Linked DNA regions of Homo sapiens: regions 1, 3 and 4 are each linked to region 2. Evidence: promoter capture Hi-C in 16 types of primary human blood cells and fetal thymus (Javierre and others, 2016). All regions are on one chromosome and are shown on one strand. The core of a region is centred on a gene start or on the middle of the fragment in contact, and the rest is flanking DNA. Distances in the headings are between cores, read along the strand shown. Region 1 overlaps ZDHHC5 (zDHHC palmitoyltransferase 5). Region 2 holds the start of SSRP1 (structure specific recognition protein 1). Region 3 holds the start of ZDHHC5 (zDHHC palmitoyltransferase 5). Region 4 has its middle 19 kb from the start of MIR130AHG.

Region 1 (2,700 bases), core at 114-2,613, 350 kb before region 2:
CCTGCCTCAGCTTCCCAAAGTATTAAGATTACAAGCATGGGCCACCGCACCCAGAGCAATTTTTATTATTAACCTAGAAAAAAAAAATGTGGGAAGGAAAAATTAAATAGATGATAGTGTGGAATTAAAAATTAAGTTTTCAAATTTTACTGATTTCTTTACATAGCATTTTTTCATATTTACATCACAAGAAATGCTAGGTAAAGAACTGTACAGCTGGGTACGGTGGCTCATGCCTGTAATCCCAGCACTTTGGGAGGCCAAGGAGGGCAGATGACTTGAGGCCAGGAGTTCAAGACCAGCCTGGCCAAAATGGCGAAACCCCATCTCTACAAAAAATATAAAAATTAACCAGGGGTGGTGGCACACGCCTGTAATCCCAGCTACTTGGGAGGCTGAGGCAGGAGAATGGCTTGAATCTGGGAGGCAGAGGTTGCAGTAAGCCAAGATCATGCCACTGCACTCCAGCCTTGGTGACAGAGTAAGACACTGTCTGGAAAAAAAAAAAAAACACACACACACACAAATATATACTGCAGATACATGGTATACATAAATATACACATATATTTTTTAAGTCTTCAAAATATTGCAAGGATATATACCACAATATAACAGTAGTTAGCTCTGGTCTGTGAAATTATAGGTAATGTTTTGCCTTTTTTGTACTTCGTACATAATGAATGTGCACTACTTATTGAAATCTTTAAATAAAAGATTTTTTCTTTTGGTCAGGCACAGTGGCTCATGCCTGTAATCCCAGCACTCTGGGAGGGTGAGGCAGGTGGATCATTTGAGGTCAGGAGTTCCAGAGTAGCTTGGCCAACATGGTGAGACCCCATCTCTACTAAAAATACAAAAATTAGCCAGGCACGGTGGCACGCTCCTGTAATTCCAGCGACTCGGGAGGCTGAGGTAGAATAATTGCTTGAACCCGAAAGGCAGAGTTTGCAGTGAGCCGAGATGGAGCCACTGCACTCCAGCCTGGGCAACAGAGAGTGAGACTCTGTCTCAAAAAAAAAAAGATTTTTTTCTTTTAAAGGGAAAAAATTCAAATGCTATTTTTCTTTTAAGAGAGTTTTGCTCTATCACCCAGGCTGGAGTGCTGTGCTGCGACCACAGCTCACTGCAGCCCTGAACTCCTGGGCTCAACTGATCCTCCAACCTCAGCCTCCCAAGTAGCTGGAACCGCAGGTGGGCACCAGCATGCCCAGTTGCAATGCTCCTTATTTTGAAATGTCTGATCCTTCTACATCATCATCTACCAGAAGTGATCTCTTTGATTACTCTTACACAATGTATTTGTTTTTTGTTTGTTTGTTTTGAGATGTAGTCTCACACTGTCGCTGGAGTGCAGTGGCGCAATCTCAGCTCACAGTAACCTCCACCTCCCGGGTTCAAGCGATTCTCCTGCCTCAGCCTCCCGAGTAGCTGGGATTACAGGCATGCGCCACCACGCCCGGCTAATTTTGTATTTTTAGTAGAGACAGGGTTTCTCCATGTTGGTCAGGCTTGTCTCGAACTCCCAACCTCAGGTGATCCACTCACCTGGGCCACCCAAAGAGTTGGGATTACAGGCGTGAGTCACGGCACCCGGCCCACGGTGTATTTGTTTATAGAGGTGTCTTCCTATCTTCCTTTCTAGTCTGAGCTATTTGAAAGGAATGACCTTTTTATTTTTTATTTACTTTTCTTCAGATGGAGTTTTGCTCTTATCGCCCAGGCTAGAGTGCAATGGGGCAATCTCGGCTCATCACAACCTCCACCTCCCAGGTTCAAGCAATTCTCCTGTCTCAGCCTTCCAAGGAGCTGGGGTTACAGGCACGTGCACTACCATGCCTGGCTAATTTTTATATTTTTAGTAGAGACGGGGTTTCGCCATGTTGGCCAGGCTGGTCTCGAACTCCTGACCTCAAGTGATCCGCCCTGGCCTCCCAAAGTGCTGGGATTACAGGCGTAAGCCACCACGCCCGGCCAGCAATGACCTTCTTAAAAACCCCAAATGACCATCATAGTGCCTTCCATAATACATCAATAAATATTTGATGAATGAACATTAAAGGCTCATTAAAATAGCCTTTCTTGGCTTTAGGGACACAAAGTTCTTTTCCCTCACCCAATCTTTGAAGGGAAGTCACAAACAAAGCACAATGATGTAGGCTTTGGGAGCACAATGAAGTTCTTTTTTTCTTTCTTTTTGAGACGGAGTCTTGCTGTTGCCCAGGCTGGAGTGCAATGGCACAATCTCGGCTCACTGCAAACTCTGCCTCCCCCACTCAAGCGATTCTCCTGCCTCAGCCTCCCAAGTAGCTGGGATCACAGGCACCCACCACCATGTCGGGCTAATTTTTGTATTTTTCAGTAAAGACAGGGTTTTACCATGTTGACCAGGCTGGTCTTAAAGTCCTGACCTCAGGTGATCTGCCCACCTTGGCCTCCCAAAGTGCTGGGATTAAGATGTGAGCCACCACGCCAAGCCTACAGTGAATTTCAGAAAAACTTCATCTCAGCAGAGTTGCCAGCCCGAAACTACTTGTCTCACTCTTGCAAAATAACCTCACATTTGAGAGGAAAACTACATGTCATCAGTGACAACCTTTGTCAACTTATTTTCTTTCTACCTTTTAGTCCACTGATGATGGTTCTCTCCCCTCCTATTCCAGAAAGAGCCTACTTCTTCTGCAAGCATAACCTTCAGAA
Region 2 (2,700 bases), core at 102-2,601:
TCAGCTCACTGCAACCTCTGCCTCCTGGGTTCAAGCAATTCTCATGCCTCAGCCTCCTGAGTAGCTGGGATTATAGGCACCCGCCACCACGCCTGGCTAATTTTTGTATTTTTAATAGAGACGGGGCTTCACCACGTTGGCCAGTCTGGTCTCAAACTCCTGACCTCAAGTGATCTCCCTGCCTTGGCCTCCCCAAGTGCTAGGATTACAGGTGTGAGCCACCGTGCCTGGCCGGGGATGTTTTCACCTTGTTCAAGTTTCCTCAAATCTGAGAAGTGTGCTAAAGTAGTAATAGGCCCTCAATATCTATTTATTAAACCCAGTTGAATTTATTTTGCTAGATAATGCTGGAATAGCCACTACTCAGAGGTTAAAGCTATGAGTTCAGGGGAGAAGGGTGCATTCCTGTTGTCTCTTACCCCAGGATTGATTTAGCAAGCTGGTGTATTGATTGTCAGGGAAATCTTGAGCTTACATATTCTGTACTAATGTCTTCATGTAGGACACATATCAATAGTCATTCTGAACATACAGTCACTGTGATTATGACAGAAGATAACTGGACTGGTGGTGTTAAGGAGGTCTGGGTCCTACCTAGCCTTGTTGCCAACGCACTGAGACCCTGGGCAACTCACTCCCCTTTGGGTCTCAGTTTTCCCATCAGTAAAAGGAGGTTGGGGTAGAAAAACTAAAACATCTTTTCCAGGTCTGGTCTCTGATGTTGCAAAATGCACTCTGGGATTATACGGGGGAGACCTGGCTTCCGCAACCACAGGATGATGTGGTTTCAAATCAGTTCTGGCTCCAAGGTGAATCTGACACCAGGACTTGAACTGGATAAGGCCGTTTGCCAGCCTCTTGGAGGTACCTATAATTTTCGGTTAAGGATGTGAAAATTTTGGGTGTAGACAGTGAACTTGACAGTTCAGCCAGAAAGCAGTGCACCCACGATGACACCAACACCCGCATACTCTCCGCAGCCAGTGGGAGAGGTCGTTTCCTCCCACAACTGTTCAAATACTTCTCTTCTTGTCCCATCGACTCCTTTCCATGACATAGAAACTATTTTGCAGAGAAACGGGCACGCATCATTCCAATACACACCCCCACCCCACCCCTGTACTAAGTCTGATACAATAAAACTACACAATTTCTCTTTAGTATCTAGTCTCGACTGAAGAAGTGTCTGTAGTTTCTAAAGAGCCCTACACACATTTTCTAGGCCGGATTCCCCCTGGGTGAGAGAGGCTTCACGGCAACCACCCTTCCCTCAGGTCCTCCAGAGTCGCTGACGCTCTATGCGACTGTCTCGCAGGCGGGCCCGACTCGCGTCTCTCTAGCCAGCTCATCCTCTCTGTGGCCTGTGTACGGCTTCCGGTGGCGGGACGCGGGGCCGCGCACGCGGGAAAAGCTTCCCCGGTGTCCCCCCATCCCCCTCCCCGCGCCCCCCCCGCGTCCCCCCAGCGCGCCCACCTCTCGCGCCGGGGCCCTCGCGAGGCCGCAGCCTGAGGAGGTAGGTGGTGGTCGTCCCCGGTCCCAGGAAGGCAGGGGCCCCGCTCCCCCACGGGACCCTCGACATGGACCATTCCGCGTTCGCAACCGCGGGGAGCGGGCGAATCCATTATGTGGGGCGGGGGTGAACCGTGGGTCTGGGGCCGCGGGGTGGTGGGAGCGGTGCGAGGGAAACCCTGCACTCTGAGCTGGATTGGGTCGCGTGCGATGTGCGGGCTCCTGGCAGACCCTGGGGTTCCGCTGCTCGTTGCCATGGCTCCCGCCGGAGCGGCCAGAGCGGGCGTCGGGTTGGGTGTCAGCGGTATTCCGGGCCCGGTTCTCCACCCAGGCCTGGACCTGGACCCTCGGGCACTGCAGCGTCCGTCTGTAGGTTTCCAGGCAGAGGAAATCCTGAGACATCCAGGCGCAGCTGGGAGTTGCTACCTGGCTCCATCCGTGAGCACAGCGAGGTGCTGTCTTTCATGCTTATCTGTCTTCCTCTTGAATTCAGATTCCCAACCTGCTGAGCATCCGCACACCCACTCAGGAGTTGGGGCCCAGCTCCCAGTTTACTTGGTTTCCCTTGTGCAGCCTGGGGCTCTGCCCAGGCCACCACAGGCAGGGGTCGACATGGCAGAGACACTGGAGTTCAACGACGTCTATCAGGAGGTGAAAGGTTCCATGGTGAGAATGGCTTGGACAGGTGATACAAGTAGAGAGAAGGAAGGAGGGTAGAGTTTTTGTCCATTAATGAGAGCTTGCTTTGGTAACGTTATTTTGGAAAAAGAAGACTCAGTATAATGTGTACCTAGTGTCTCCACCAACTCAAGGCAATACTGAGAGATAGTCTCAGAGTTATAGGGACCGTATATGCTGTTCAGTTCCCAATTCCTGTTTTACAAATGAGGAAACTGAGAATCTGTTAAGGGTTCTAGATACCAGAGTCTGGTTTAGAATCTAGACTCCTTGGCACCCTCAGCTGTTGCTCCTGCATTGATAATCTGGCCAGTCCACTTGCAGCAGGAATGTGTGTTAGGTAGAGCTGTAGAACCCAGGACATGCTGTGTACTGTCTCCATGCATCTGGGCCTGCTTTTCTTACAGAATGATGGTCGACTGAGGTTGAGCCGTCAGGGCATCATCTTCAAGAATAGCAAGACAGGCAAAGTGGACAACATCCAGGCTGGGGAGTTAACAGAAGGTATCTGGC
Region 3 (2,700 bases), core at 6-2,505, 330 kb before region 2:
AGGCTTTAATAAGGTTTAATACAGGTATTTCCTTAAATAGGTGGATACCAGCAGTACCAAGGACAACACAACTATTTTTTGTTGAAATAAGCGGTGTAACAGTACAATAGAGTAAATCTAAATGCACAGTAATGGAGGTACCATGGAATAATTCACATGTCAAGGTATGGGAGAAAGAGCCAAGAAGTTTAATGTGGGTGTTATCATTATATACCGAGGTAGCAAAATACATGGCAATATAATTTTGTAAACATTAAGTTTATACAATGGGTGATAATGAGCATTCTGAAGATATTTGATCCAGGACAGAGGTATACTGAGATAGAAGGATGATATGCAAATGTTAGATCAACTTGGTCAAGATGGCATTAACCAGGAAGTGAAGAATCCAAGGCAAAAAATAGTCTAGCGTATAACGTATATGTGATCCTACAACTGCCTTCCTAACTTTTAGCAACTTTCTTACTTCTTATTTCAGTGTTTCATTTGGCCAAGTGGGTAAAACACTTTCCACCTGCCTGCCCCAAATATAGGTAAAATATTGACAAACGCATTCGGGCTCCACTTTAAAAAGTACAAAGTACTAAACGCATGGAGCACTCGGCTGGTGGCGGTAGGAGGAGGAAGCGGACGGGTGAGAGAGAACAGGTAACAGGATGAAGCTTGAGCCAAAATAAGTATCAGCAGAGTGGAGCGAGGGACTCGAACCGCAGAGCGGTAAAAGGGAAACAGCACCCGGTCCCCACCACGGGACTGGGGAAAGGAGAATCACCCGTTGGGGCAGGGCTGACGACCGCTGAAACCGAAAAGAAGGAATCCACGGCGGCCAGGCCCACCGAGGTTGAGAGAGCGGGCTGCGGGGACCGCAGAGCCCGAGGGCGCAGGGCCGGGGGCGGAAGGGGCGGCGGCTGGGCGCCAGGCACCGGGGACCGCGGTCTCGAGCTGAGTGGCCGTCTCTAACCCGTTCCGAGCCCTGGCGGTCGTGGATCCCCGGCCTCTACTCGTCGTCCGTTTCCAAGGCCCATGGGTCCCGCCGCGGTTGGAAGACCCGGCCCGGAGGAGAAATAGGGCCTTAATACCCTCCCCGTCTTCGGTCCCCCTTCCCTAGAGGTCACCCTCCCCTCCCACCTCGCTGGTACGGCACTTCCGGTTCCGCAGGGACCGGTGTCCTCCGCACTCACCCGCGAGCCCGGTGCCCGTCACCACCGCCGTCGTTGTCACCGCCGCCTCCCGGCAGTGCCGTCCTGCCTCAGAGAAGCAGCGCGCGGCCCCCGCACGCTCCACGCCCGCCCCGCTGCCGCGCGCTCCCGCCAGGCGTCGCTCGTCTCGGAGCCGGCGCGCGGCCGTTGCCCTCAGTGCCGGGTCTCGAACCCTTCCAGCGTTCCCATTGGCTCCCTAGTCCGGGCTCGCGCGACGTCTCGCGCGGCGCACGTTTGTCTCATTCATGCGGCTCGCGCTGCCGCGCCCAACCCCGCTCACTCTCCCATTCACCCATAGCCCCCACCCCGACTCCGATCTGGGGCGTGCGCGCGAACCCTGGCGACCGCGGCGACCTCGCGGCCTGATTGGCTGCAGCAACACAACGACGTACGCACGCGAGAAGACGAGAGCGCGCACGTAAGGCCGTGGGGTTGCGGGGACAACTAAGAGACAAGGATTGGCCTAATGCACAGGAGTCAGGAATGAGGAAATGGCCAGGCGAGTCTTCCCTTCTCCTGCGTCCTGTTGTATTCCCACTGAATCCAAGCAAAAACCCCCGGAAATAAGAAAAGAATTATGTGTGTGTACTAGAAGTACTCAAAAGCAAGCAGCTACCTTCTCGAATTCAGCAACCCCTCTCCTACTGAGGTGGTACAGTCCAGACAGGCTTCCAGCGCAGCCAATTACCGACGACTATCGCCGCTTCCTGCTTCAGCCCCTTCGCGGCGGATTGGCCAACCATTTGGCGACTAGGCCTCCCTCTTCTCCTTCCCATCTCCTTTTTTTTTTTTTTTTTTTTTTTTGATGGCAAAAACTTTATTTAAAACAATCTTGCTGGAGAAATCTTCAGTCCGGCGAGGTCGCTGGTCCGGGCAGAATCCAGGGCGATGGAATGGTCTGGGCTGTGTCTCCCACATGAAGGGGACGCCCGGACTTGAAGAGCCAATGTAGGGCGAGGCTCCTGCCAAGGGCCGGGGAGGGAGATGAAGAAGAGCAGGCGCCAGCCTTGGAGCCGTAGCGCTAACCGTGAGAGGGAAGCCTAAGGAGCGCGCGACCTGAGGCGGTGGCAGCACCCTCCCGCCCCCGGAGTGCGAGCCGGGAAGTGAACTCCCTGAATTCCATTAGTTTCCCACTGTCACACGTGGGATGGGCGCCCGCATCCCTCACCTCACCCAATCCTAGAATACAAAGCTAAAAGCAAAAGGTTCTCTAGAATAGCTACTGTCCCTGGCGAGCTAACTCTGCATAGGTCATAGTGCTACGCTTTGCCCTGATTAGCCCAAGACAGCTGTGAACCCAATAGCAATGCCCCATGTTCTCTCCCCATTCGGCTCGAGGCTATTTCTTTTTTCGAAAGCAACTCTAGCTATTACATAATGGTCCCTCAAAAAGGTGTTTCACAAGCCACTTCCCTGAAGCCGAGGCCCCTCACCTGTAAAATCCTGAGGACTGTCCTCGGGTTTGGTCTCAAATGTTGCTGGCTTTACTGTGGTTCTGACA
Region 4 (2,700 bases), core at 64-2,563, 280 kb before region 2:
TTCTCTTGCCTCAGCCTCCGGAGTAGCTGGGATTACAAATGCCCACCACCACCCCCGACTAATTTTTGGTAGAGATGTGGTTTCATCATGTTGGCCAGGCTGGTCTCGAACTCCTGACCTCAAGTGATCCACCCACCTTGGCATCCCAAAGTGCTAAGATTACAAGCATAAGCCACCACTTCTGGACTTCTGAGATCTTGAATGAGTAGATCAATTGCACTGTAAGGTTTCATTTTTCATCTATAAAAGAGGATAATAATGAGGTGGTACTACTGTATATTATATAAATTTGAATTATACAAACTTGAAAAATTGAAAATCTCCCTAAATTAAAAAAAATCATCAAGGGTTGCATAATTTCAAAATTGGTGGGCTGAGTGGATTGTAAACTATACTCATAACTATTGGTACATGATAGTGGCACTTGAGCTGGTGAAAGTAAATAACTGCCATCACTGCTCATAATTGTGTGAATCAGCTATTGTTTATGTGCATCATAAATTCTGACAGTGACATTTGTGACTAAGGTGCTGTTATTTTAACATTCAGCTTTATCATTTAAAATATTTCCTGTATTCTACAATGATGTCATCTCAGAGTTCATTCATTAAGTCATGGCACTAGTGCTAAAAACACCCTCCAAAATCAATAACTTTGTAATGAAAGTTAGATATGATAAGACACTATGAAAAAGCCCAAATAGCTGTCCTGATATGCCAAGCAGTTAATTTAAGAGTGCCTACTCTGAGAAATATTAGAGATTTTTGTATTTAGAAAATAAACAATAGTTTGAAGACAAGAAATTCTACAATGGTTGAAGATTCTCTCCCTACCTTTTACAGTTATTATTCTGGAAAACTTAGTATCAAATTATCTAAATTTTGAATTATCTAATATATTCAGTAACATATCCTTTTCTTAAGTCATGATCTCTCTTAAATGAAATAACATAATCCATGTAAAATTCTTAACACAGTGCCTGACAGCATGGCAAATGGTTAATGCATGTTAGGTAGATACATGGCTAATGTGGTTATCAACCATGAGTCAAGACAATGTCCTAAGGGTTCATAGGGATGAGGCTGATTCTGACATAGCCTATGGCTCATGTTGGAAGCCTTCTGCTATCCAGAGAGAACTAAAGGTATTGATCTTTGAGAAACAGTGGCTGAACAAGTGTAAAGTGTAAACTTTGGAATCAAAGTTTAAGTCCCCACATCAGCTGTTTAAGAATCTGGAACCGGCCAGGCACAGTGACTCACACCTGTAATTCTAACACTTTGGGAGGCCAAGATGGGTGGATCACTTGAGGTCAGGAGTTTGAGACCAGCCTGGCCAACATGGTAAAACCCCATCTCTACTAAAAATACAAAAATTAGCTGGACACATGGTGGGTGCCTATAATTCCTGCTACTCAGGAAGCTGAGGCAGGAGAATCCCTTCAACCTGGGAAACAGAGGTTGCAGTGAGCCAAGATCGCACCATTGCACTCCAGTCTGGGCAACAGAGAGAGATTCTGTCTCAAAAAAAAAAAAAAAAAAGAATCTGGAACAGCAAAAACATCTCCCTGAAAAGGCAAGTGTCCATGGGGCTATGCAGGACAAGCCTTCAACAATGACACCAAGTGGCAGCAAAGACTCATTGCAATGGAACCCTAATCTCACCTTAAGGTTCTTCCCCAGACAAATCCACGTGTGGAGGGGTCTACAGTTGGGGACAGGAAACAGATCACTGAAAATGGATCTGTGGACATACAGGCCTTTGTCTACCCCAGAGTAGAATTGCAAGGCAGGGCAGAAAGGTGGGGGTTGTAAGGGTGTGTGTGTGTGTGTGTGTGTGTGTGTGTGTCTATGAGTGCATAGCCCTCTGTCCATCTTTCTCAAGGGAAATGGAAATGAAGATAATTTATTTATTTATTATTATAAATACTCAGGCAGCTCTGTATTTATAATAATTTATTCTACAACACAGGCAGCTGGAAGAGCCAGAGATTGTTAAATATGCCACAGAGATAGCAACAGAAGATTCAATTTATATGCAAACGACTTGAAACTTCATGTAACAAAGTGTTTCTAATATTATTATGATCTCGACAAAAGCCCTTGATTCTTTAGGGAAAAACAGAGTGGCAGGTTGCTGGGGAAAGTTGCTAATAGTTGTTTGCAACTATGTAAGACCACATATGGTATACTGGAAAAGTGGCCAGAATTATTCACATTTCGTTATATTAATGCCCTTAGCAGAATGACTTTGCAGGTCTTTTCTTTAACAGGTAGAGATTCTTTCCTTACCTTGAATCTAAACTGGTCTGGTGACTTGCTTTGGCTGCTAGAATGAGGCAGAAGTGATGTTCTAGTAGTTCCTAGCTTCGGATTCAAGAGGCCTTGCATGCATGCCTCTGCTTGCTTTCTTGGACTTTTGCAAACTTCGTATGAATAAGCCAGACTAGCTTCCTGGAAGACCAGAGATCACTTGGATCAGAATTGGTCATCTGGTTGATCCCAGCCAAAGTCTAAAACATGTGAAAGAGCCTATGCAAGCTCAGTGAAATCAAACCTCAACAAACCTTCAGCTAACCCCCAGCTGACTGTAGCAGGTACATAACTGAGGCTACCCTAGATTTGCCAAGCCCACACTGGGTCAATGACTCATTAGCAAAATAAATGTTCAGGCTGGGTGCAGTGGCTTATACCTGTAATC

The links. Contacts are between HindIII fragments. The CHiCAGO score rates a contact against its expected background, and 5 or more counts as called.
Region 1: a contact is called between a fragment that was not itself captured here and the fragment with the promoter of SSRP1 in region 2, in 12 of 17 cell types (activated CD4 T cells, erythroblasts, megakaryocytes and 9 more). The highest score is 7.4, in activated CD4 T cells.
Region 3: the fragment with the promoter of ZDHHC5 here is called in contact with the fragment with the promoter of SSRP1 in region 2 in 17 of 17 cell types (naive CD4 T cells, activated CD4 T cells, total CD8 T cells and 14 more); the score reaches 32.7 in naive CD4 T cells.
Region 4: a contact is called between a fragment that was not itself captured here and the fragment with the promoter of SSRP1 in region 2, in 2 of 17 cell types (monocytes and fetal thymus). The highest score is 5.8, in monocytes.

The regions. Positions count from the first base shown.
Region 1 is chr11:57,684,645-57,687,344 of GRCh38, reverse strand. The region is part of intron 3 of ZDHHC5 (zDHHC palmitoyltransferase 5); the gene reads right to left. Among named protein-coding and RNA genes, the nearest start is that of ZDHHC5, 18 kb to the right of the region's middle. The HindIII fragment of the contact is 5,752 bases long and covers 1-2,700 here.
Region 2 is chr11:57,334,543-57,337,242 of GRCh38, reverse strand. SSRP1 (structure specific recognition protein 1) reads left to right here and starts at 1,351. Exons shown (of 17, transcript NM_003146.3): 1 at 1,351-1,513; 2 at 2,003-2,175; 3 at 2,595-2,700. The coding sequence starts at 2,122. It also overlaps a transcript of P2RX3 not described here. RefSeq lists enhancers at 1,213-1,262, 2,113-2,182 and a silencer at 1,433-1,612. The HindIII fragment of the contact is 4,158 bases long and covers 1-1,413 here.
Region 3 is chr11:57,666,669-57,669,368 of GRCh38, reverse strand. ZDHHC5 (zDHHC palmitoyltransferase 5) reads right to left here and starts at 1,255. Exons shown (of 12, transcript NM_015457.3): 1 at 1,182-1,255. RefSeq lists enhancers at 554-623, 177-814, 815-1,454, 1,624-2,203 and silencers at 734-933, 1,184-1,423. The HindIII fragment of the contact is 3,116 bases long and covers 665-2,700 here.
Region 4 is chr11:57,618,434-57,621,133 of GRCh38, reverse strand. No RefSeq gene overlaps it. Among named protein-coding and RNA genes, the nearest start is that of MIR130AHG, 19 kb to the left of the region's middle. The HindIII fragment of the contact is 3,483 bases long and covers 1-2,700 here.